Linked DNA regions of Homo sapiens: region 1 is linked to region 2. The links are contacts of gene promoters, found by promoter capture Hi-C in human tissues and cell types (Jung and others, 2019). All regions are on one chromosome and are shown on one strand. The core of a region is centred on a gene start or on the middle of the fragment in contact, and the rest is flanking DNA. Distances in the headings are between cores, read along the strand shown.

Evidence for each region. Contacts are between HindIII fragments. The study calls those that stand out against the background at their distance.
Region 1: a fragment that was not itself captured here is called in contact with the fragment with the promoter of CSF3R in region 2 in 1 of the 25 tissues and cell types used here (dorsolateral prefrontal cortex).

The regions. Positions count from the first base shown.
Region 1 is chr1:37,492,122-37,494,821 of GRCh38, reverse strand. MEAF6 (MYST/Esa1 associated factor 6) reads left to right here. Exons shown (of 7, transcript NM_001270875.3): 7 at 715-2,700. The coding sequence ends at 723. Among named protein-coding and RNA genes, the nearest start is that of MIR5581, 7.5 kb to the left of the region's middle. The HindIII fragment of the contact is 5,415 bases long and covers 1-2,700 here.
Region 2 is chr1:36,481,362-36,484,345 of GRCh38, reverse strand. It overlaps CSF3R (colony stimulating factor 3 receptor), which reads left to right and starts at 1,433. Exons shown (of 17, transcript NM_000760.4): 1 at 1,433-1,535; 2 at 2,809-2,868. RefSeq lists an enhancer at 2,745-2,984. The HindIII fragment of the contact is 11,013 bases long and covers 1-2,984 here.

The sequences.
Region 1 (2,700 bases), core at 147-2,646, 1.0 Mb before region 2:
TCTGGCTCTGTCACCCAGGCTAGAGTGCAATGGTGTGATCTTGGCTCACTGCAACCTCTGCCTCCCAGGCTCAAGCCGTCCTCCCACCTCAGACTCCTGGGTAGCTGAGACCACAGGCATGAGCCACCACACCTGGCTAATTTTTGTGTTTTTTGTAGAGACATGGTCTTAATTTGTTACCCAGGCTGGTCTCGAGCTCCTGACCTCAAGTGATCTGCCCGCCTGGGCCTCCCTAAGTGCTGGGATTATAGGCCTGAGCCACCACGCCTGGCCTGAAATACAATCTTTTTTTTTTTTTTTTTTTTTGAAACAGAGTTTCACTCTTGTCACCCAGGCTGGAGTGCAATGGCGCGATCTTGGCTCACTGCAACCTCCGCCTTCCAGGTTCAAGCGATTCTCCCACCTCAGCCTCCTGAGTAGCTGGAATTACAGGTGCCCACCACCATGTCTGGCCAATGTTTTGTATTTTTAGTAGAGACGGGGTTTCACTATGCTGGCCAGGCTGGTCTCGAACTCCTGACCTCGTGATCTCCCTGCCTCGGCTTCCCAAAGTGCTGGGATTACAGGTGTGAGCCACTGTGCCTGGCCTGAAATATAATCTTTAGCTATAGAGCAGTCCCCTAGTAGAGTTGTTTATGAGATTTTTTTTTTCCTTTAGGGTCAAACAACTGTTCTGCCGAGAGTAAGTTGGGACTTTTGTTTTTCTTTCTTTAGGACTATTAGAAGACACATTAGTGCAGAAGCTTCCAGGCTGTAGAGCCCTGCTTCCCTTCTCTGACCTCACAAAGATAAACATCCTTCACCTGAGTTCGTGGCCATCCACCTCTGCTCTCCCAGACCCAGTGCCTGTGACTTTGAGTAGTTTGTTCTAAATGTGGTGACAAACAAGTCATTTCTGTAAGACATTGGGTCTTACTTTATGTCATTTTTAGTAACAGAACTGCAGGAAGATGAAGACAATGTTGTAATCCCAGCAAGTTGCTAACTGTGCGTTTCTCCCTTCTTAGAATGAATGTCTCCCCCAAAACTGGCTGGCACCAGCTTCATCTGTGATACCCTTCAAGAAATGTTCTCTGGTTTTGTTTTATGCTGAAAGTAGAACACAAGTCACATTTCAGATGGAGGCTGTAAATATCTGGCATTTTCTTATATTGTTTTATGTTTTCTTGTTTTTCTCTTGTTGTTTTTATCTTATTTTCTTTGGGGTTTTTTTGTAATGCCTTTGTACAGCTCATACTTTCCTGCTGACATATCTGATCATCTCTTTCATGCAGTTGCCAATATTCATAACTGAAAATAATCTGGTTTATCATAAGTAAAATGGGAAACTTGCCTCTGTTTTTTGCAAGGGGAGGTAAAGAGTGTTTAGTAATTACCTATCTTAAATCTTTCTGAGTTGGTAGTAGATTCATGTTCAAGGAACAGGAAAAATGGAAAAACATAAGTTTAAATCAGTTCTTTTTAAATAACTTTTTATTCTTTTGTATAAATAAAATTTCACAGGCTTCAAATTCTCATGCTTTACTTTTAAACCCGAGATTGTTTTTTCACTTATTTATTCATATCATGCCTTATGGAAATTTCTTTTTCTGTATTTTCTCTCTTTGCTGGTATTCACCTGATTAAATATTGCTCTAAAAATCACCATGGCATATGGAAAGTCTCAAAATTATACCAAAAGTGATAACTTATGTCGTTCTTAAGTGGAGTGAAAGGATAGCATCAGTGAGAGCCAGTGTTGCCCACCAGGTCTCCCTTTCTTGGAGGGCTTGTTGGGGCTGAGGAATCTGCTAGTAATCGTTACCTGCCTCTAGTGCTGTGGTGAACTTGCGACAGGGTCTGGCTGCACATTGGAATCACCTGAGAAGCTTTAAAATACTCATGCCTGGATCCCATCCCTAGAGACTGGGGTACAGCCTAGTTATTGGGAATTTCTTTAAAAGAGTTCCTGGGATTCTGATAAGAAGCCAGGTTGAGAACCACTACATTAGAAGACTGAATGGTTTAATTTACATCCTATGTTATGATTGGTCTAAGGGATAAGATTTGGGGTCTAACCTTTCCTTTCACTCTAGTTAGTCATAGTCCTTGACTTATGCCTATATCTTTGTAAGAAATAGTATGTTTCATTTGTGATAGTATTGGTAGGGCTGAATATGGATGGCATCTACTGTAAAACAAGTCTACCTTGTCAGATGTGCAAAAGCTTTCACTCTTGTTCTCAAATAAACTTTTGTGGGTTTTTTTTTTTTTTTTTTTTTGACTCTGGCTATTTAGATCTTTGACTGTGTCTTTGGTAGCAGAACTCCAGTGTCAGGATTTTTAAGGAAATAGTTTCTTATATTTAGATTATTCCTTAAAAAAAAAAATCCTAGAAGCATTCTGTATTTTTTGTCTGTTGGTCTCCTTTGCTGGGAGGGAGGAGTGGGATGCCTACAGTTTCCTTCCTTTTGGGGAAAGCACACAGCAGACCTTAAAATATTTTTGACTCTTGGGCTGGGTGCGGTGGCTCACACCTGTAATCCCAGCACTTTGGGAGGCCGAAGCGGGCGGATCACGAGGTCAGGAGATCGAGACCATCCTGGCGAACACAGTGAAACCCCATCTCTACTAAAAATGCAAAAAATTAGCTGAGCGTGGTGGCGGGTGCCGGTAGTCCCAGCTACTCGGGAGGCTGAGGCAGGAGAATGGCATGAACCT
Region 2 (2,984 bases), core at 184-2,683:
CAGCAAGTGCAAAGGCCCTGAGGCAAGAGACAGCATAACAAGTTCAAGAAGCAAAGAACACAGAGTAGCTGGAGCAAGGCAGCAAGGGGGAGAATAACAGGAGAGGGATCCAGGAGGTAACAGGGATACCAGGTTTTGTAGGGCCTTGTAGACCATCCAAAGGGCTTTGACTTTGACTCTGAATGAGACAGGAGCCATTGGAAAGGTTGGGACGAGGATGGGCTGATCAGACTTCTGTTTGATTGATATCGCACTGGCTGCTGAAGGAATTACAGACAGGTGCGGGAACAAGGATGAAATAGAAGCAGGAGAGCAGGCAGGGGGCTATTGCGATTATCTAGGCAATAGATGAGGGTAGCTTGGAGCTGGCTAGTATTGGTTTCAGTTATATTTATATTTTCCAAATATTATCATAAAAATATTCAAACGTAGAGCCAAGTTGAACTTTACAGTGAATACCCAGGATTCTGGTTATATTTGGAAAGAAGAGAGTCCATGGGACTCACTGAGCGAGCAGAGCCTGTGGGATATCTTGGGAGGGTTGCAGCAGGCAGTCAGGTCATTTGACTTGGAACTAGAACTACAGCCCTGGTCTGCAGCATCACACCAGACCCAGATGCCTCAAAAGGATTATATGTTAAGGACAGTCTGCTGGTCTGTTGGCACCTAACCTTTTTTGGGTTATGAATCCAATAAACTATGAGCAGTTTGAACCTTTCTCAGAAAATGCAAAGAAAATTATTTGTAGTTTTAGAAGAATCATGAATACAGACAATAAAAGACATAAAATGTAGTCTATTTCACTCAATTACAAAATATTCAGTGTTGCAGAACCATTGTGGGTAAACATTCCTAATTTTTAGTGAACATATAAAGACCCCGTGCCTCACCAAGACGTCCTCCTGTCTTGCCCCCAGAATTCCTGTTTCTCCATCTGCCTGGTCTATGGGCAATGCACAGAATACGTAATGAAGAGGGGAGCAGTGAGTATTGGGTTACACAATTCCCTGGAACCTGGAACACACCCTTCTGAGTACTGTGAAGATGTGGTCCCCAAGGCTAGAGCTGAAAAGAGGCTTAGGGCCGGGTGAGCCTTCCAGCCAGGGCCTGCCTCCAAGTGATGCTCCCCCAGGGCAGGGGGCATAAGGATGGCACCCAGCCAGGTGGGAGCCTGGGCCCTGCCCAGCCTCAAAGCTTTGAGCTCAGGAAATCCGGAGGCAGGGGAGGGGGACATCGTTGCCACATTCCCCAGCCCTTTAAGACCCCCAAGGCAGGAAGGCTGCCCGGGCCTCACCAGCTTCCCTCACAGGCTCCTTCCTGGGAGGAAGGGGCTGCCTGTGCCCTCGAAGGCGCAAGGGAGGGCAGGAGGGAGGCTCGGAAGGTGTTGCAATCCCCAGCCCCCGGGCCTGTCAGAGGCTGAGCCATTAACGACAGAGCTCGGGGAGAGAAGCTGGACTGCAGCTGGTTTCAGGAACTTCTCTTGACGAGAAGAGAGACCAAGGAGGCCAAGCAGGGGCTGGGCCAGAGGTGCCAACGTGAGTAGGGGATCCCTAGAGAGGGGCTGAGCCTTGGGCTTGATGGAGAGCTGGAATCCTGGGGCCACTCCCCACAGCTCTGCCAAGTGTTCATGTCCGGGGTCCTAGGCCTGGGGCCCGGGATTCGTCCTTTGGAACCCCAGCCCTGGACACTGAGTCTCTTTTCACAGGATGCCCCTACTTTTGGGGGTATTGCACCAGGGAAGTCACTCACAGCCAAGTATCTCCTTGGGGACACTGAGCTGGGCTGGGGACAGGCATAATCATTCTCCCCTCCCCATGCCTCTGTCTCTCAGGACGTGTGTGTCTGTGAGTTCCAGCCGCGCAACCCCTCCCCGTCTGGGTCTCTATTTCACTCTCTGTTTCCATCTTTCCTCCTCAGCTTCTCTCTGGCTTGCTATCTCTCTGAGTTTCTCTGTCTCGCATATTTCCTGCTATCTCTTGAATCTTAAACTCTCGGTAACAGACGCTTCCCGGGCTCCAGGCCTCCGAGTGCCCCCCCCCCGCCCACTCTCTGGGTCGGCGTACATTGGGCCCTTTTTCTCTGTCTCTCGATATCTCTCTGGCCTCAATCGTCCTCTTGGCGAGTCTCTCTGTCGTTTCAGTCTGTGTGGATTTCAGTCACCGCCTCACTCTGTCACTCTTCCTGTTGCTCTCTCTTTTTCTTTATCTGCAGCATATCTGGAAATGCCTCTCCCCTCTGTTTATTCCCAGCCCCCTCCTCCCTCCCCACCCTTCCCACAGAAAGAATCTCGAGGTGAGAGTAGAAACAGCAAGGGAGCGAGGGGTGTGAAGTGGGGAAGAGAGTGTGAGGGGAGAGGGCTGAGCGTGATGAGGGAGAAACAGAAAGAGGGAATGTGAAGGCAGCCAGCCCAGGAGACATCGAGCTGTGCTGGGCCACAGGAGTGAGCACCTGCAGAGCCCAGCAGAGATGGCCGCAGTGACAGGAGGGCCAGGGGGCCCAGGAGTTAGGAGGAGAGGATCCAGAAAGGGGGCTTTGGAACTGCGCAGTGTGGCACAGACAAAAGCAAGGTGGCAGTCCTGGGAGGTGTGACCACACAGGCTGTGAGGGAGGCAGGGGTGAGGGGAAAACTGAACTGTGCTGGATTCTGTGAGCTGCTGACCTGCTATTTATGGCTCGTGAAAATAACCTATGGTTGCTGAGTGCCAACTCCATGCAAGGCACAGGGCTAAATGCCTTTACCAAAATAATCTCATTTCATCCTCACAACAACGCTGAGGAGTGAGTGCTAATGTTATTTCTTTCCCACAGATGGGGAAACTGAGGCTCGGCTCGGAAAGGTGAAGTAACTTGTCCAAGATCACAAAGCTGGTAAGTGGCGGAGCTGGAGATCAAGTCAGGTGACCTGAATCTGAGCTGGGCTCCAAACCTCTCTGCATATCGGCCCCCCAGAGAGTGAGACCATGCTCCAACAGGTCCTAGGCCCA